7 separate regions of the Homo sapiens genome follow, and regions 1, 2, 3, 5, 6 and 7 are each linked to region 4. Evidence: promoter capture Hi-C in 16 types of primary human blood cells and fetal thymus (Javierre and others, 2016). All regions are on one chromosome and are shown on one strand. The core of a region is centred on a gene start or on the middle of the fragment in contact, and the rest is flanking DNA. Distances in the headings are between cores, read along the strand shown.

What was found. Contacts are between HindIII fragments. The CHiCAGO score rates a contact against its expected background, and 5 or more counts as called.
Region 1: a fragment that was not itself captured here is called in contact with the fragment with the promoter of SLC30A7 in region 4 in 10 of 17 cell types (monocytes, erythroblasts, megakaryocytes and 7 more); the score reaches 11.6 in monocytes.
Region 2: a contact is called between a fragment that was not itself captured here and the fragment with the promoter of SLC30A7 in region 4, in 1 of 17 cell types (erythroblasts). The highest score is 5.7, in erythroblasts.
Region 3: a fragment that was not itself captured here is called in contact with the fragment with the promoter of SLC30A7 in region 4 in 1 of 17 cell types (total B cells); the score reaches 9.0 in total B cells.
Region 5: a fragment that was not itself captured here is called in contact with the fragment with the promoter of SLC30A7 in region 4 in 2 of 17 cell types (monocytes and megakaryocytes); the score reaches 7.0 in monocytes.
Region 6: a fragment that was not itself captured here is called in contact with the fragment with the promoter of SLC30A7 in region 4 in 1 of 17 cell types (activated CD4 T cells); the score reaches 5.9 in activated CD4 T cells.
Region 7: a contact is called between a fragment that was not itself captured here and the fragment with the promoter of SLC30A7 in region 4, in 9 of 17 cell types (naive CD8 T cells, total CD8 T cells, neutrophils and 6 more). The highest score is 8.4, in naive CD8 T cells.

The regions. Positions count from the first base shown.
Region 1 is chr1:100,458,973-100,461,672 of GRCh38, reverse strand. All of the region lies in intron 8 of CDC14A (cell division cycle 14A), which reads right to left. Among named protein-coding and RNA genes, the nearest start is that of GPR88, 78 kb to the left of the region's middle. The HindIII fragment of the contact is 3,674 bases long and covers 1-2,700 here.
Region 2 is chr1:100,476,586-100,479,285 of GRCh38, reverse strand. The region is part of intron 10 of CDC14A (cell division cycle 14A); the gene reads right to left. Among named protein-coding and RNA genes, the nearest start is that of GPR88, 60 kb to the left of the region's middle. The HindIII fragment of the contact is 1,027 bases long and covers 813-1,839 here.
Region 3 is chr1:101,397,112-101,399,811 of GRCh38, reverse strand. No RefSeq gene overlaps it. Among named protein-coding and RNA genes, the nearest start is that of LINC01307, 75 kb to the right of the region's middle. The HindIII fragment of the contact is 1,162 bases long and covers 713-1,874 here.
Region 4 is chr1:100,894,644-100,897,343 of GRCh38, reverse strand. SLC30A7 (solute carrier family 30 member 7) reads right to left here and starts at 1,254. Exons shown (of 11, transcript NM_133496.5): 1 at 1,002-1,254; 2 at 673-774. The coding sequence starts at 1,081. EXTL2 (exostosin like glycosyltransferase 2) reads left to right here and starts at 2,502. Exons shown (of 5, transcript NM_001033025.3): 1 at 2,502-2,700. RefSeq lists enhancers at 750-909, 960-1,209, 1,760-1,829, 1,724-2,446, 2,447-2,700. The HindIII fragment of the contact is 2,158 bases long and covers 1-2,002 here.
Region 5 is chr1:100,511,800-100,514,499 of GRCh38, reverse strand. The region is part of intron 15 of CDC14A (cell division cycle 14A); the gene reads right to left. Among named protein-coding and RNA genes, the nearest start is that of GPR88, 25 kb to the left of the region's middle. The HindIII fragment of the contact is 1,643 bases long and covers 611-2,253 here.
Region 6 is chr1:100,418,158-100,420,857 of GRCh38, reverse strand. The region is part of intron 4 of CDC14A (cell division cycle 14A); the gene reads right to left. It overlaps LOC105379827 (a long non-coding RNA gene), which reads left to right. Exons shown (of 3, transcript XR_007066254.1): 2 at 2,268-2,700. Among named protein-coding and RNA genes, the nearest start is that of CDC14A, 67 kb to the right of the region's middle. The HindIII fragment of the contact is 2,942 bases long and covers 1-2,700 here.
Region 7 is chr1:100,440,892-100,443,591 of GRCh38, reverse strand. It overlaps CDC14A (cell division cycle 14A), which reads right to left. Exons shown (of 16, transcript NM_003672.4): 7 at 596-658. Among named protein-coding and RNA genes, the nearest start is that of CDC14A, 90 kb to the right of the region's middle. The HindIII fragment of the contact is 5,917 bases long and covers 1-2,700 here.

The DNA of each region.
Region 1 (2,700 bases), core at 14-2,513, 440 kb after region 4:
GCTGGGTTACAGACCTAGCCTTAGCTAATCAGCCAAGGCAACCACTGGGGGCTTTGGCCTTTGCAGGCCTTGCAATGGCAGCTCCAAAAGTTCAGGGGACTAAGTTCCCAGCACACTGATGGCCACATCTGTAACCCATTCAGAATTCACTGAACCCTAACATACCAGCTGAGTGCAATTATCTCAGTTGGAACCCATTCATGATGGGAGGTTCCAGGGGTGGCGGCAGCCAGCAAAGTGAACCAGACTGTTTCCACGCTGTGTGCTTGGCTGTATTTCTTGCTGCCTTGGATCCCTGTTATGCTAGTCAGCTCTCAGCTCCAAGCCGACTCTTATGCTCTGTGACACTGGGGCTGGAGTCCATATACTACGCCCTACATTTCCCAGACTACCTTTCTATCTGGCTTCCTATTGGTTGTAAAAATGGGAGGCACTAAACCTCAACCTGAGGAGGAGGAAGGGAATTCTTCCTGTCCTCCTGGCAGCATCACTTCAGCAGCAGAAAACAGGAGCAGGTTCTGCTAACTCCACTTTTGTCCCTTTTGTCCCCCCAGCCTTAAAGGTACTAGCTGTTTTCTCCAACATATTCTGGTTTCTTCAGTGTTGCCTTTTTACTTTTTAGTCTTCTTTGAAATAAACTCCTTGTATTAAATGCTTTATGTTTGAAATGCCTAGTGTGGTTCCCATTTTCCCACTTGGGTCCTGTTCATCTTCTAAGCCTAGTTCTCCAGCCTTTTCTTAAAGTCTATGAGCTACCCAACATATTCCAAAAACTGCCTTTTACCAGAGTTGGACAGCCATAACTGGTACACTTGGCCAGGTCACACAAAGGATGAAGACAGAATTGGAAGGCAGGACCAATTAATCCACAGCTCAGATATGTGATTTTCACAGGCTATGTTGCTTTTGAGCAAACAGGTAAAACAGAGCTTATTTAAAATCTTCTGTGTAGAAACAATAACCTACACAAACATGGAGAAAACATGCTTTTCTAACTGCAAAAATCAAGTCTGTTTTCCTAGTTGGTTTACTTGCTCAAATTATTTCCCTGCAACAGATTTATAGCCTAAAGCAAAAAAAGAACTGTAGTTGGCATTAAGAAGTAACGGTTTTTCTATCATGTGAGGAATGGGGAGGAGAAGGGCTCATAAACACCTGGGCAGCCTGCCCTGGTGTGGCGGGCTGGTGAGAGCTTCTGCCTCTGGGTTGCTAGCATGCCTGGGACCTCCATGACAGCACCTGTCACACGTTGTGTTAGCAATTGGTTCAGTGCCTATCCCCTTCCTCCCTGCAACAAAGGCTGCAAGAATCTCTCTTTTCATATATGAATTTCCATCATGAGTAAATGGCAGCATAGCTAACATGCCTAAATAGACTATTAAGAGAAACGATGTATACATCTTTTGAGAAGAAAACACTGGACAGAAATTGTCCAAATATGGCAACAGGGCACTGAAATAATAATAACAACAATAATTGCACCTAACGTTTATCAAGCACTTACTATATGCTAGCCACTATGCTAAGTGCTTTATGTGGATTATCTCATTAAAACCTACAATTACTCAATTTCTGGTGCCTGGAAAAGCTGGCCCGTACACATACAGCTAGTAAGAGGTAGAGCCAGTATTTCAATCCTGGCAGTCAGATTCCAACACCCATGCTGGGGCTAATTTCAAGTAAGATTCAACTTGATTCTATCTGTTAAGACTCCAAATAAGAGAACATGATATGAACATGAGCGGTTAGAATTGGTGAGTAGGTTTTATAAAAATCCTTAAAACTGTTTAGAATAAATTATAACGAACAATGGAAATGTCCTATGACCTGTGAACAACTGTTTGTGGCTTTTACGGATGTACGTGAGTGCTTTTTGCGAGAGATTGGTTTTAGCAATGTGTATAATGTGCCGACCCAGAACTTATGGAGCCTTCATCCGACCCTTACTCCATCTGGCCACAAGATGGTGCGCTGGCATCACTGAACCACAACAAAGTCCTGGAGTTAAGCTGACCAAACACATGAACACGGTATCAGAGTCAAAAGAGATGTTTTTATTCATCTCTTCCCAGGCCCTCATTTTAAAGTTCGAAAACTGAAGAACAGCAGAGTCAAATGACTAGTTCACTCAGTCATTATTAAAAGTAAAAACTGCAAACTGAGCAGGCAAATGTAGAAAGACATAAAATCTGTTGATTAGGCCAGCTAATGATAAAAATGTAACCATAATACCTGCTATCTAATAAACGCCTATTATGTGTGCCCAATACTCTGCAAGGCACTTCACATAACATCTCTAATCCTCACTAGGTGCCTGCAGTGAGGATCATATTTCTCCCACTGTGATATATAGGAAAACTGATGCTCAGAGAAGCTGTGGAACTCACTGAAGTTCACGCAGCCAAAAAGGAATGGAGCCAGGCTTCAACCTGCCCAGGCTCTTTACTAAACGGGACACTGGGCTTCTCTCATTAAAGGAGCAGGCTGATGCCTCAAATGGTCGGGATTCTCAGTCTGAAGCTATCTTTCTCTCTCTCTCTCTCTCTGTGTGTGTGTGTGTGTGTGTGTGTGCGTGTGTGTGTGTGTTTAAATAGAAGTGAGAATGACAGTGACACTTAAGAGACATTTTTACAGAAAATCTGAAATCCAAAATATCTGTTTCATTCTGCTGTTATCCATCATTTATCAATTCAAAAATGT
Region 2 (2,700 bases), core at 77-2,576, 420 kb after region 4:
TAAAAAAGAATTAACTTTTTTTAAAAGGAAATGATAGAAGTCAATCTCAACTAAAACTCAAACCATTAGTGTTAGACTTTTTCAAGCATTTTCCATTTTCTAAACAGATGTTTTTCATCTTATTTTTGCTAATTCCTGAAATAAAAAAGCAATGGTTTAACTATTAATTTCTGATCTAGCTCAATCCAATTGTGAAACTTACGAAATACTATTGGCACCAAATTAAGATGTAGCCTAAGTTGATATTTACAGAGTAAGGATGAGCCAAACACCCTTGTTATTGAATATGGTTCAGGGACCAGCAGCAGCACACCACCTGGGAGCCTGTTAGAAATGCACACTCTCAGGTCTCACCTCAGACCTGCTGAATCAGAGACTGCACTGAACAAGATCCCCCAACAATTCCTAGGCATTTTCATGTTTGAGAAGCACTGAAGACAATGGAAGGCTTGCAACAAAGTTAGAATTCTGAAAATATCCAACTCAGTAGAAGCTGATGAAAACATCTATTGTAATAAAGTAGAACAGGGGAATTTTTGGTTTATGGATTTAAGAATGAAAAAGAGTTCAACCATAATACTGTGCTTCATAAAGATAACCTCATTCAAAATGGAAGCTCTGCTTTACAGAGCCAAAACTTCCTGCAAGAGCCAGATTTAGGCTTTATGTGAGTTCTCTCTGTCTCAGAAGGAAATGTAAAACAAAAACAATGCCATATTGAGCCCCATAAATAAAGGATCTCCGTGAGCTGAAAATCCCCGTGGGAGCCCCACACTAGTCCCTCAATGATCCCTTTATAATGAATGAAAGCTTTAACAGATGATGATCCCCGAGGTCACAGATAGATCTATCTGTGATATAGGTTATCTGTCACAGATAGATCTATCTATCTGTGATATAGGTTATCTATCACAGATAGATAATGATACCCAAGGTCAGGGGAACATTCACACAGCAAATGTTCAATAAATAGAATCAACCAAGTTGTAAAAGCAGCCTGACTCCACCTTTATACTTCTAAAGGTTGTCTCGGAGGACATTGAGTCCAGAGTTGGCTCAAAAACAAAAAGATGTATTTTTACATCATTTTAAGAACCTTGAGGATGTTTGATAGAAGACACATTTGGGATTCAGAATGGTATTTTTGGTTTAAGAACTTCAGCTTTAAATAGAAGAAAAACACCTGATGGTTGTTTTGCAAATAGAGAGCTTTATATCCTTTAAAAGTTTAAATATAAAATTTCAGACTGTAACAAAGGAGAGGTCAGCCAATAAGTAAATTCATCAACAACTCAAAAGGATGCTAATAAACATCTCTCTTACTGCCAGTGAATAAGAGGGCTGCTTGTTTAAGACATGGCAATCAAGCACCTGGACATATTTTGGTCCTCAAGGACTAGGAGGATATGACAAACCAGCCTTTCTAAAGTCAGAGATTTGGAATTAACATTCTCTAAAAAGCACTGATTGACTTTTCACCTTTAAAAGAATACAATCACTTTAACTTGTTCAGTCATTTTTGACAGGTGAAAACCTAACAGAAAACGTTTTTACCCTCTTATTTCTTGCTTAATGAACACGTTACTTATTCATGCTTTTGCGTCATCATTGACTTCATACTCTTCATCTCTCTGATCATTAGTTAGTCTTCAAAGCCTTGTTTTTTTCTTTTTTCTTGAAATGTCCCTGGTACCCATCTCTAAATCTTCAGTCCAACTTCTATCCTCTTTTGATAAGTCCTTGTCTCTCTGAGATGGATGATAATAGCCTCCTTTTTAGCCTCTCTGATTCCAATCTCCATCCACCCAATTCATCTTACACATTGTTGCAACTCAAGCTTCCTTAAATAACACTTAAGTCACACGACTCCTCTATATGCTCTTATTCATCATACTTTCTAATTTGGAGTATTTGGAATTAAATACTCCAAATTAGAAAGTATGATGAATAAGAGAAGTTCAGAATATGCATGTTCATCACTAGGATCTGCATCTCCTGCTGTACATATTTGCTATCTATACAAAGCAGATGTATTAATTTCCTATGGATATTGTAAAGCATTACCGTAAATGTGGTGGTTTAAAAGAACACCAGTTTACTTTCTTACAGATCTGGAGTTGGAAGTCTGAAATCAGTTTCACTGAGCTAAAGCAGTGACAGTAGGCAGAGCTGGTTCCATATGGAGGCTTTGAGGAGATAATTTGTTTCCTTGCCTTTTTCAATTTACAGTGGCTGCCCATATTCCTTGGCTTATGGCTCCTTACTCCATCTTTAAAATGCATCAGTCCAATCTGTTTCAGTCATCACATCGGCTTCTCCTCTAAATGGCTCCCCCTGGGTCCCTCTTCTAAGGACACTGTGATTAATTGGGCCCACCCAAACAATCCGGGATAATCTCCCCACATCAACTTCCTTAACTTAATCACTTCTGCAAAGTCCCTTTTTCCATATACAGTAACATTCACAGCTGGTTCACAGGGATTAAAATATGCCTGTATTTGGGGAGACATTATTCAGACTGCCACAGCAGATTTCATGCCGAAAATTATAGGCAGACTAATTACCTTAAAATATAAGGCAATAACACCATTTCTGGAAAATAAAGTAGATGTACTTTTCCCTATTCTTCCCATAAGTAAAATTTAAAATCCTATATATATTTAAAAAAAAAAACAAGACTCTGAAAAATAGAAAAGAAAA
Region 3 (2,700 bases), core at 44-2,543, 500 kb before region 4:
GGGCGACGTGAGTAAAACCCTGTCACAAAAAGAAAAGGAAAAAAGTCAAGGCTCAGAAAGAGAAATTATTCTGTGGTCAAACACACATAGGATGTAAACCCAGGTCTGTCTGGCTCAGAATTTACTCTTATTACATGAACGCCTCTCTAAAGAGCTAGATCCAGGCTTACACACAGAAAACTAAAGGGAAAACTAGCATTCATATACAAATTCCTTTCAAGCTCTATTATTCATATTTCCCCAATCTAACTTTGTACTTTAATTAAATACTGAATTTGATGGATAGGTTCTGTGTAAGTCTCATTGCTAAGGAACTCTGAACAAAGAAAACAGGTCAGCGTATTTTAACAGTTCCGTTTTGAGCAATGTTGGTGACAAAGGAAAAAAATCAATAGAGAAAACTGTGCATTAGGAAAGAAACACTGGGCTAATGGTAAATCAAAATGTTTTGAGCAAAAGCCAGACAAAACTGGATTCTACTTATGCCTTTCCACCATTTAATTCTTCAAAATCCTTGAATTTTTTCAAGGGGAAATAATATGCACTGGTTTGAATGAGAGAGAGAACAGATGTAAACCGTGTCTTGTAAATTTGAGTTTGTACCCAAGAACTTTAGTTCCCACATCCTTACCTGCAGCCTTTGTGATTTGTGCTGTGAGAGTGCAAATATGTCCAGCAAGAAGGAAATAGCTCTCAGCTTGCAAAAAAAGCTTCTAGAGGGAGGTTCCAGAGAACTGAAATGATGAGGCTGGCATGTGAGAAAGGCTACAATCATCACAGAGTTTTTGAAGTGCCCCAGGAATTTGATGGGTGTCTGAACTAGGGGGCAGAACACTGATTTCATTTTCATTGCTTTACAGTGACACTCTGTAATGTGATGTGGTGTGTGTGAACGATTGCATGTGTGATTTTGTGTGTGATATGGTGTGCATGTGTGTGTGATTGTATGTATATAATGTGGTATATGTGTGATTAAGGCTTGTGATTATGTGTGTGTAAATATATTGAGGATCTATATCAGAGAGAGAAATCAATTACCCCTGTGCTTAGGTAGGGGAATAGACTGCAGCTAAAGATTCAACAACACCCAGCAATGTACTGATGAGTGTGAGCAAAGCAGGAGTCCTAAAGCCAAATGATACAATGTTTTACCGCAGAAAACACAACTAGGCTTGATTTAAAAAAAAAAAATTTACATAATTTATAGCAAAATGAGATATTGGTCTTTGTCTATCAATTTCGCAAAAGTTAAAAAAATTGGTAATAGCCAGTGTGGGCAAGATGTGGGAGACTTGACATTAGTGTACATATCTGGTGGCAGTGTATTTAGTACACTGCTGGAGGGCCATTGGCAATATGTTCAACATAAATTATACTCAATATTTGATCCAGCAATTCCATGTTGTTGGAATTTATCATAGGAAATAAAAGGGTAAGTGTGGAAAGATGTAAGTGAAAAGACACTCCTTGCAGCACCATGTGTAACAGGAGCAATCTCATCAACGATAGTATTTATTTGTTGAATAAATAATAATACTTCTATTTGAAGGATGAGCTATAGTGCTGTAGGTAATGATCCAGAAAGATGTCTAATATATTCACAGTGTTAAGGCAAAAGATAACCTTGCCATATGTTTTTGTTTCAAAAAAATAAAATTGTGTTAACATTTATAGAAAATATTTGGAATGATTAATAACAAAATATTAACAGTGGGTTATGACTGAAGGGGATGACATTGGGGATAGGGAGAGAATTTTACTTTCTATTCTATACATAATTATTTTTTTCCAAAAAAAGCATATATTATGTCTATACTTGTGAGGAAATAACAGTAAGGATGTTTCTATTTAGAAATGAAGGAAGAAAGGAAGCTTTTGCAAATACCTATGGTAGAGCAGACTCAGTTTATATCTCTCCATTTCTGACCTGAGGCTATGGCCAAATTTCCAACCAACTAAAAATTCAAATAACCAGATTTCTAAATCTGTTTTCCCATTGATTCATAGCCTGTTATTTCCTGTGCAGCCTGTGTATCTGCAGCCATCTGGGCAAAACAGAGCTGCTGCAGTAGACAAGCAAGGTAAGTCCTTCCCCAAGAGCCCACCTTGTGCTTGTGATAGACACAGGAAAAAGGAGAGCTTTGGTCGTAGAGGGCCTTATAGATGGTTTAATTTTTTGGATAGTAAAAATGAAAGCAAGGACTACCTATGCTCTTACAACCAAACAATCAAAAGACATTATTAAGAAGTCATGCTATTTAGCATAGAAATGTACAGACCACATTTTTATACATAGCAATAATATTTAGATTTTAAAGTGTATGTTGAATAATAAAAAAAAGTACCTACTTTCAACAATGCTGCAGTTCTATTCAATTGTTTTGGACTTTTCTGCCTGTGACTTGCTGAAATAGAGCCTTTCGTCATTCATAGCATGTCTTCTCATAAAATACCATACTTCTCCTCTGTGCAAAAACATAGCTTCCATTACAAGGGAAAAGGCACGTTAAATCTTACAAACCATAAAAAATTTCATTTTGTGTCACATTTTTAAAATGTATTGTGAATTTCATATTTTTCCCTTGGCTTAACCATTTTCCAAGTGGATTTTTTTCAGTTTTTTAATCTTTAACCACTACTATTTCCTAAAACATTTTCTCTTTCTTTAGCTTCTCTTCTCTACCATCACTATTTCCTATT
Region 4 (2,700 bases), core at 5-2,504:
CTTCACTGCCACAGAGTTACACACTAGATTTTCCTCCTCCTAAGGATGTTTCAAAAAAAACAAAAACCCTCAAAGGTGCCACCAAAACCCAAGAAATGTTGTTTCTAGAAACTATATGGGATTTTTACATCGCAGTTAAGACTACAGGAAAATCATGAGACAGTTTCGGCATTAAAGAGAGAAGAGAATGACACATATTCCTCCCGATATCACTTTATAAAACCTCCCATTCCAAGCCCCAATAACAAACTAAGTAGAACATCTCAGATATACTCTCTCAGAATCTTAAGGGTGAAATCCAAATGCCACTCCCCCCCGAGAGAGGCAGCAAACAAGTTTCTCCCAATTCCAACAAAGTGGGTAAACCTAAGGCCTACAATTAGAAATGAAAGATTCTGCCCATCTGCTAAAATAAGGAGGGGCTTGTCAGTCTTGTCTGATGGAACTGGAGGGGAGCGTGACAAGAGAGGTTGCACAGGATAGGCCCAGATCTTACTCAAGAACTGTAGCCCTACCAGATTGGTGTGGGTATGAGAAAGCAACTCAGCAGCAGAGGTAGGTAACAAAGGTAGGACCTGAACCTCCTAGTGAGGAGCTACGTGGCATTAAGCAAACAGTGCTTCGTCTCCCTCACACCCAGCTTCCGCCCAAACCATTTTCCCCTTTGGTTACCAGTTGCTCCAGATGCCGTAGAGTAGTTCCACAAAAGCGAAAGAGAGGTTCAGGCACAGGAAGAAAAACAGGTTCCGGGAAGTCTTGTCGGACAGTATAGACCTGGGAATGATACACGTGGAAAAGAGCCGGGAGAGTTAAGGAGGTGCCGGGACCCCGAGGCTGGGTACCCTCTTCAAGACCCTCCCAGTTCACATGCTCCTTTCTTCACAGCTAGGGGTTGACGGGGAGTTTTTGACTCTCCCTCACTGGACCTCGGGCCATCCTGAGGTCTGGGCCTTCTCCCTTTCTGCCGGACACCCCCTCCCCGCAAACACAGCACCCCGCACCTAAACCAGCCCGAGATCTTGCCGAACAAATTGAACTTGGGTGGTTTGTATTCATCGTCTTTGATGGACAGGGGCAACATCTTCTCTGCCCGGCGAAGGGCCGGGTCTACTCCCCTCTAGAAGTGGCTCCGTGGGGTGATGGCAGTGACAGTAGTGACGCCTCAAACGGGAATCCCCAGCGCTTGTCCGGGGCCGCGCGCCGCTGCGAGACACAGACAGACACAGACACACACCCGGGAATTCGCTTACTTCCGGCCCGGGCCGCGCAACGCGTCCTGGGACAGGAAAGGAGGGAGGCCGGTCGCGGGCGGGGCCTGCGCGGCGGAGGGCGTGGCTTGCGGCGGGGGCGGGATGAGAAAGGTGCTGGAGCTGTTGGAGGGACGCCAGGAGGTGGCAACTACCAGGGGGTGTGAGGGGCTGACCTGGGATGGAATCCTGCCACCCGGACTCAGGAAGAAAATCCTGAGGTGGCGACCTGCAGACTGGGCTGGGAGATGGAGAGCCCGCTCACGCCCACCCGACCGCCTACCACCAGTGTTCCCGGATGCATGGGCTCCAGCGCCTGCCCTTTCGCCATTTCCTCCCAACTGGCATTAAATCCTGGTGTGGTAGATATCAGTGATTAAGAGTCTAGGCAGCCACGTGTTCTATTGCCGCCAGTCCGCAGGAAACGCAAGTGATCGTTTTGCTGCGTTAACTCTATGGGCGCCCAAATCTTAGGAATCCATTCCACGCCACCCCGAAAACAGCGCTTGACCCTTCTGGACTGCCACGCAGGAGGCGATCAATGTTTTTCTTTCTTTATTTTTTTAAGAGACAAGGTCTCGCCCTGTCACCTAGGCTGGAGCACAATGAGGCTCACTACAGCCTGGAACTCCCGGACGCAAGTGATCCTCCTCAGCCTCCGGAGTAGCTGAGACCTCAGGCGTGCGCCACCATGCCTGGCATCAATCAATGTCTTTCAAAATAAAGGCTGTTAAACGTAGTATAGGAAAGAAGCTTTTTAATGGTAGGTTCTACCAGACGTGTTTGTTTGATTTTTAGGTTTGGTTAATGCATTGTTTCCCGTACAATCTCAACCCGCGGAAACCCCGAAACTCTAGAATTCGTGCCGGTCTCTTTCGCTTCCAGGTCATCCCCGGGGCAACGGCCGCCGCTCTAATTCTTGTCAGAACCTCCAGGCCAGTTTCAGCAACGTGCAGGCAGAAGCTGGCCCCTCGGTGGGATGCGAGGGCGTGTGGAGCGCGGGGAGGAGAGCCCCACAGGCCTTTCCTGGGCACCCGCGGTGGATGGGAAGGCTCCTTCGGGCGCCTTTCAGGGAAGTTGTTTGGCTGAGGGAAGGTGGTCCGTCACGTGAATGTTTAAAAGTTGTTACCTTGGAGAAGAAATGGAGGAAAGGATTGGCTTTCGGAGGTGGGCTGGAAACTACAAAACCGAGCTTCCTGGGAATGCCTTTTAGGCCGACAGGAAGTGGAGCGTCACCGAAAGGGAGGGGCGGCCACTCGGGGACTGTCCCTTGCTCCAGGCGCTCACTTTGCGGGCGGCACTTTTTCCAGGTTGTTAATCCAGCTAATGGAGAAGGATAGATGCACGCTACTTGGTTTAGAAAAAAAAACAAAAATGAGCAAACGAGACGCCCCTTCCGTTTTATGATAACTAAGCTGCAGGGAAATAAATCGGCTGGCCCTACTGCAATCTA
Region 5 (2,700 bases), core at 183-2,682, 380 kb after region 4:
ATCACCCTAACATAGACAAATAATGACCTTAGGCAAGATATGATTCTGAGTGAATAAAAAAAATTATTAAAAAATATTTGTTGCATTAAAAGATAAATACATTTTTGAATGATTTTCATCAGGCCTGAATTCAAAGAATTTTCAGGAATATTCTAAATTTAAAAGAAATTTTCATTATAAGAACATCCATGCTTAAGTATTATGAGTTGATTAAAGTTTTAATTCTGATTGGCCAATGTTTTTAGTTGTTACAATAATGAATTAATGAATCTGAAATACAAAATAAATTATAACAATGACAGTGAAGATGGTTATAAAGAAAGTGAAAATAATTTTTATACCTGAAGTACAAATATTATTTTAGAAGTTAGCCCTTGTTTATATAACCAAGAGATTTTAATTTCTCAAATATAATATTCAAGCTCATTTAATTAGTAAGCTCAACAGAGTTATAGTGAGTTAGGACCAGATCAAGTTTATTATGAATATGTGGTATTCTTATTGTATGAATACCATAAAATTAATAATGTAGCAATATTCAACCTGAAAAATAAGGATAAAATTGCCTTACATTTGCAGCCCCCAAAATTTTTATGTCAAAATATAAGCTTCCATCAAGAAGTCTTGTTCCCTGAAAGCAGTAAGATTTGACATAAAACAAAGTGTTAGGTAAGGAGATCAAGACAATTTGTTCTGTTCTGGAAATCTGCTACTAATCTGTTTTGGCAGATGTAGGTAGTAACTTTAAAATTTTAGCTATTCTGGAGGTGTTTCTTTTTTAAACAGCCCAGTTACCTAATCATGGCAGGAACATGTCTAATAATTACAGATATAAATATTGTACAGATGGTTAATAAATAAAACATGTTAGCTATCAAAAACAGCAAATTATAAAGAATAATGAAAGATTAAGGTCCTTGACAGCAAATGAATGTAACGATGTCTTAATGTTCAAATAACTTGAACCAAAGGATCCAATGGCCTGGAATGTTAGCATCCTACTAAGGTCAAAATCCTGATTCAAAATGTTCATGGACTTTTTTGCCACACTGACATTTTCTTTCCTACATTTTCCCCAGTCCTTTAAGGAATAAACAATAGTGTACTAGTTATCCCTGGTTTAAGTTCTAACCACAGAGGCAAAAAGAACCTAAAATAAAAATGGTTTGTTTTAATGTGATTGAAATTAAAGGAAAAAATACATGCTTGGCAACATGGTATTTTATATACATAACTATAGTGTTTTAAGTTTTAATGAACAAATACAACACTGGGGAAAAATAAATACACCCATAACTGCCTCTGTACTCCTATGTCTCTTTAAGCCTTTGTAATAGAGTTTCCAGTTTTTGTATTGCTCACAAATTAACACATAAAATGTGTGCATTGATACTTATTTCCATAACTGTGGTTTCACAATACTGAAAGTATTTTTTATTTTTTATTTCAATAGGTTTTGAGGTACAAGTGGTTTTTGGCTACATGGATGAATTGTATAGTGGTGAAGTCTGTGACTTTAGTGCACCTGTCACCCAAGTAGTGTATATTGTACCCAACATGTACAATACTGAAAGAATTTGCCTCTGTTAATATGATACATATTTCCTCCAATAACACTAGATGAAATGTAGCTGGGTATGGTTTTATTGGCATCATATTAAGATAAAAGGATGAAGGTTTGTGTTAAAATCAGGTTCGAAAGGTGTGTGTGCATTTTTCCATAGTGTTCTCTGTGCATTTCAGGGACTTCAAGACTTAAAAAGCCAATTTGGGCTCATTATAATGCTATATAAAATAGTCTTTCACCTTCCTACATGATTTTTAATAGATTCTTTTTTCTGGAGAAATTTAATATATGCTTTTCAACAATCACAAAGAGCTCAATTGTTAGATGACAGATTGTTGACACCCAGCTTGACTCAGCCAACCATTACATGAGTGTTTTCAGTTCATCTGAACACCAAAATTATATTGATGCAAACTCAGTTAAAATTTATTTTCTCTTATTTTAGTAAAGCCACATTTCTAGAAAAAAAATACACAACTCCCAGATTACCGTATATTAAAGCTAAAGCTGGAAACTTGTTTGTTTTCTGTTAGTGCTTCATATGCTAACAATGAGACCCAGGCTCCTAAACACTTTAACATTCACGAACCCAGATACATTATCTGACTTTTAGTTCAATAAGTATTTATTAGGCACTTATACTGTACTGTGGAACCTCAGGAAACAAGAGATGTTTCTGAGAAGCTTAAAGGAAAGCAGAGGAGAGAGAGAATCATGTATAACTGACTATAATATGAGAGTGTCAGCGCTCCTAGGAGAGTCGAGAAAGGAAGAGCCATTCTGTTTAGATGGGTCACAAATGCTTATCAAAAAGATAACTATCGAGCCAGGTCAAGAAATACAAAATCAAGCAGAGAAACAAGGGAAAGCAGAGTGGACTGCAAGTGCTAGGGTTCAGGCTTAAGGCAGGTCGTGCCAGGTAGAGCTGCTGGAGAGGAGGCTGGCAGGGAGGCACACAGCCCGACAGGGAAGAACCCTGAATGCCAAGCCAGGGGAGCCAGACTTGACCCAGTAGGCAGAGTGCAGCCACTGAACAAAGCCAAACATGAGAAGGATTTGATTAGCTCTGTGTCTCAGAAATTTAACACTGGCAACAGTATAGAGGAAAGATTAAAGGTAAGAGACAGGAAGAC
Region 6 (2,700 bases), core at 192-2,691, 480 kb after region 4:
TTATCAACAGCTATGAGGTTTTATTAAACAGCGTAATAAAATTTACCCTACTACAAACCAGCACAATTTATATTGTTTACCAGTAAGCCAATGTTGCCCATTAGTTAATCATGCACTTTCCCAACTTCTGCCGTAGGTACCACCATGTACTACCATTCATTCTTTTTAAACACACATTTACTTTTGACTTAAATCAATTTGATGTAAAATGTTTTATATCATTGCTATAAATGGGAAAACCCGCCACTGAGTCTATACATAAATGAATATTAAAATGCATAACTCTTATAATTTTAAATATTTGTGTTTACTACACCGTGAGAAACAATGTAACAAATATCAAGTCTGTACTAATTTTATAGAGGAACACCAGACCAACATGAGAAGTTATATAGAATCCTCTTAGAATTCATCTGCAAATACTTCTAAATCATTTTTTTAAACTAAATCCTGCAGTCATTAAATCCTTAATACCTGCTCCAAAATAATATGTGAATTTCTGAAGCATTTTGGAATTTACAACTGTATTTCTCTACTCAGATAATTCAACCTCTCTGATACACAAGGGGAGATTCTTAAAACAATAAATGGCTTCATAGAGAAGTCTCAACCAGACTCTGGGTCATGAATTTGCTAATGATCTTTCTCTGGGGACATTTGCCTCAAACTTTACTATGTTTTTAGCTTTGTTTTTAGGTGCTATTTTTCCTCCAAAAAAAAAAAAAAAAAAAAAAAAACCTTTTCAGCAAAGCATAACACACACACACATACACACTATATATATATATATATATGTGTGTGTGTGTGTGTGTGTGTGTGTGTGTGTATATATGTATATATATATGTATATATATATATATTTAAAAGTGAAATCTGTGCCCCTACATTAATTATATTTATATTTTGTGACTTGGAAAGTGAAAATACTCTTGAGGATTCAATTTGGCCATCTGAAAGAGTATTCTTCAATTTTATTTGTTTAATATTTTACTTGTGTGAAAAAGAGGAAACAAATGCTGACAATAGCCTTTCCCAGGTAGGTGCTGCCACTGGAACATTGGCACGATAGCTTTGAAATTAACATTTCAACCATGTCTTAGTCAATTAAATTCCTTCAAAATACAATTTCCAGAAAACTGATGTTACAACTTTAAAATAGTCTTAAAGCACTATGATTTACCAAATGTGGAAGACTTATGCCAAAAAAGGAGAGACTCCATTTACAAGTTTCAGACAACTAGGTTTAGAATACACAGAATACTAACTGTGGACATTACAAAGACATCACTATGATGTGTGCTTTGGGCTGAAGCCCATTAATCAGCAGAAATGCTGAGTCCTTTCCTTAGCACTGTGTAACTTACAATTATCATGCTTGCAAAACTGCAATTGAGGATGGGGGTGGGCAGATATAAGAAGAAAATGTTTCTTTTACTGGTGAAGCTAACCAGTGCAGAGCACTCACTTGGCTTGAAACTACCGCACCCTAACTGGCTGCTCCCAACATCCCCCTTTCTCATGAGGGGTTCCTCCCAGTCAGCCAGACCCAGAATCTCAAAAGTCATCTTTGACCTTGGCCTCTCCATCACGTGATAGCCACATCAAGTCAATACCCAGACTGATTATCTCTTCACAGTCACAGTCAGTCTCTCTCTTTTTATTTATTTTATTTTAGACAGGTTCTGGCTCTGTCACACAGGCTGGAGTGCAGTGGCACAATCTCAGCTCACTACAACCTCCACCCCCAAGGCTCAAGCCATCCTCCCACCTCAGCCTCCCAAGTAGCTAGGACTACAGGTACACACCACCACATTCAGCTACTTTTTTGTATTTTTCGTAGAGACAGGCCTTCACCATGTTGGCCAGGCTGGTCTCAAACTCCTGGCTTCAAGTGATCCACCCGCCTCAGCCTCCCAAAGTGCTGGGATTACAGGCGTGAGCTACCACTCCTGGCCATCCACAGTCTCTTTCAATTATGGGGTAGATCCAGGTTTGGGAGCCTGAAACACATCATTTGGGGAGCAAAGACGGAGGATACAAACATCTTTTCATATTTTACAAAAAATTTTCCCTTCAACAGCTTGAGAGACGGAACTAAGCAAGAAAAGGCCCTGAGTCTTAAATTTCATTAGTTCCGCAGTGAACTACCTGGACCTTTCTTCCATGACAATCATCATCACGTTATTTCAAACCCTTATCCAAACCCTTATCACCGTACTCTAGGACTAACACCATTTCTCTCTGCCTCCACCTCCTGCCTACTCCAGTAGTTCCAGAGCAGGGCTCGGAAAGTCTCAACCCTGCTCAAAAAGCCCAGTCCAGACTGCCAACCCTTCACCAAGATATCGTCCCAGCCTGCCTTTTCAGGTAAATTTGTCATTTTTCCTCAAATGAACCCTACCCGCTAGCCTGGACTCCTCACCCTTCCCTAAACATACCTGATATCTCTGGTATTTGAGGTTGTTGTTGTTTTTCTGGAATACTTTCCTCACCATTTCTACCTATTAGACCTATATTTCATTAGACCTAAACTCAAATACTATGTCCCATGATGCCTTTCTTCTCCAACTCAGAACCTTTTCCCTTACCCTTTAGACTCCAGAATATGACACTCAACTATAGGTGATAATGATCACAATAATGACAACAATAAAAACAAAAAGTTAACAGTATATACCATGTGCCAGGCACTCTTCTAGG
Region 7 (2,700 bases), core at 14-2,513, 450 kb after region 4:
AGGCCGAGGCAAGAGGATCACTTGAGCTCAGGAGTTCAAGACCAGCCTGGGCAACATGGTGAAATCCTGTCTTTAAAAAAAAAAAAAAATTAGCCAGACATGGTGGCATGCACCTGTAATTCCAGCTGCTTGGGAGGCTGAGGTGGGAGGATAGCTTGAGCCTGGGGAGGCAGAGGTTGCAGTGATCCGAGATTGTGCCACTGCATTTCAGCCTGGACAAAAGAGCTAGACACCGCCTCAAAAATAAATAAATAAAAGGTACAAATTCAGTTTTATTTTAAATAAAACCTGATTTCTAAAATAAAAGTAACATAATTTTACTACCCTACTAGATTTTTCTTATAAACTAAAGGTGCAAAGTGATTGTATATAAATGAGAGAATATATATAGATATGTTGTTTTTCCAAAATAAAATTTTGGTGACTCCTGATTCAAAGGAAATAACCAAGGCTGAAAGGACAAAACTGACCACTATGGAAAACTCCAGAATGCTTTTATTTAGCACCCACTCGATTTGCAATACATGAGTGTGACAGGGGGAAAAAATTAATCAACATGAAATTATGTTTTGTAAAAAAAATTAAATGTACAAACCTCATAATGTTCATATTCATCCACATCAAATGTCTCAAAGTCAAAAAATCCATGTTGTAATCCCTAAAAGCAGAATTTGAATTAGTTTTTCCATGCTAAATTGATAAACTCTACTCATCATTTCTGGAACTCCTACTTACAGAAATGATCCTCACTAATCTGAAGAGACAGCTTGAAACCTTTGATGTTTAATGCATATCTAGAAATCTTTTTATAAAACTGGTTATATTGCATTAAGACTGTCTTACTGGAACTAAAAAAACACTTAGAATAACATGAAAAAGCCCCACAAAAGATGCCTTGATTTCTAATTTACATCAGTTTTGTATGTAAAATTATATGTATACAAAATGAAATAAAACAAATTTATAGTTAGAACCTGTTGGGAACTAGACCTAACTATGACAGAATAGATCATAGTGATTAACTTCTTTGTTAGGAGAAGAAAAATCAATTATTCTTATGAGTTTTTGTCTTCCTTTTATCATAGGGAGATATTTAGCCCCCCAAAAAAACCCTGCATCTTTTACTGTTTTTTCTTCCTTAATATTTCTACTTAATAGGTCCTTAATAATATTTGATGAGAGAATATATATATTTATATATAATATATAGTATATATTTATATATACTATATATAATATAGTATATTTATATATAATACATAATATAGTATATTTATATATACAATACATAATATATATGTAATATTTCTTAATATTTCTACTTAATAGGCCCTTATTTGTTCCTAAAACTCTACCTTGGGAGAATCTGTTTCATGAGATAGTTTCTGACAAAGTAGAATTATACTTGACTGCTCTTACAATTTAAAAAAAAAAACATATTTTTATCACAAAGTAAAAGTCATACTCAGTTTTGTAAACAATGACTTAGAACTTTTAAAAACTATCCAGCTAGCTCAGATCTAATATTTTAAAGAGAACAGAATCTTTTATTTTATAAATCATGAAGCTATACAGATTACAACAGAATACAAAACCACAGGTACATTTAAAAGTTACATGATCAAGTCATTAAAAATAGAAAAAGAAACTAGCAAGCCAAGCTCCAGTACATCTATCAGTGTTTTTTCAAAACACAGAACATGCGCCATCAGCATCAGAAACACTTAGGGTAATTCATATGAAAGAAGCAGACTCCTGGGCCCCACCCCAGAACTATCAAATCATATTTGCTGTGGTTGGGGCCCAGGATCACCATTTTCAGCATAGCTTCCCAGGTGATTCTTAGAAATGCAAAATTCTGATAACACTGGTTTAAACAACCCCTACAGAATAAGCAGAACAAATTATTTAAATTAGTCCATTCTAAAAAAAAAAAAAAAACTGAGTTCATCCATATGCACCTTTCCAGACAAAAAAGTGAGAAAAATATACAAACTCTCTGAAGGATTCACTTTTTTTTCCTCTGTATTTTCAAAGGGTTTGCTTATATCCATGTATAGTAGTTCACATAACATGGAATATAAACTATACTTATGACAATGCCAATACATTAAAATCAGAGAAATGTGCTCCCTAAAAAGGCAAAAATGTGGCCATACTCTGTATAGGTTCTTGGAATGGTACTACTCGTTGCCACACAAAAATAGCCCAGAATATGGTGCCTTATGTAAGAGAATGAACTTACAGGAAATGTCTCAGGTGCTTAAAGACATGCTGCACAATCTATCAGATCCTCCAAAATCTCATTTGTCTTTGAGTTAACCCCAACATTTGATGAAACAAGTTTACATACCTTTCCTCTACAACAGGAAGGATGCCACAACTTTCTATACTGAGTTACTAATTACCATAATTACAGGCAGCGATATTCCAGTGTGAACTTTCTAAATTTTTTAAGTGTTATAAAACAAATGGCCTGTAGCAGATGGTAGAAAAGGCAAAATAATAATAGTGACGATAAATAAATTATTTTTTCCCTCAGGCATATTTTCCAAATGCTATAATCAACTGTTATATGTTGGGTAACGTCTCCATAGAAGCTCTTAACTGGCATTACTGGAAATGCACCTTGGTAATATTGTTGCAAGAGTGGGCTAGAGTATCTCTGTAGTTGTTTAAGTAGAAAGAAAAAGATTTGAA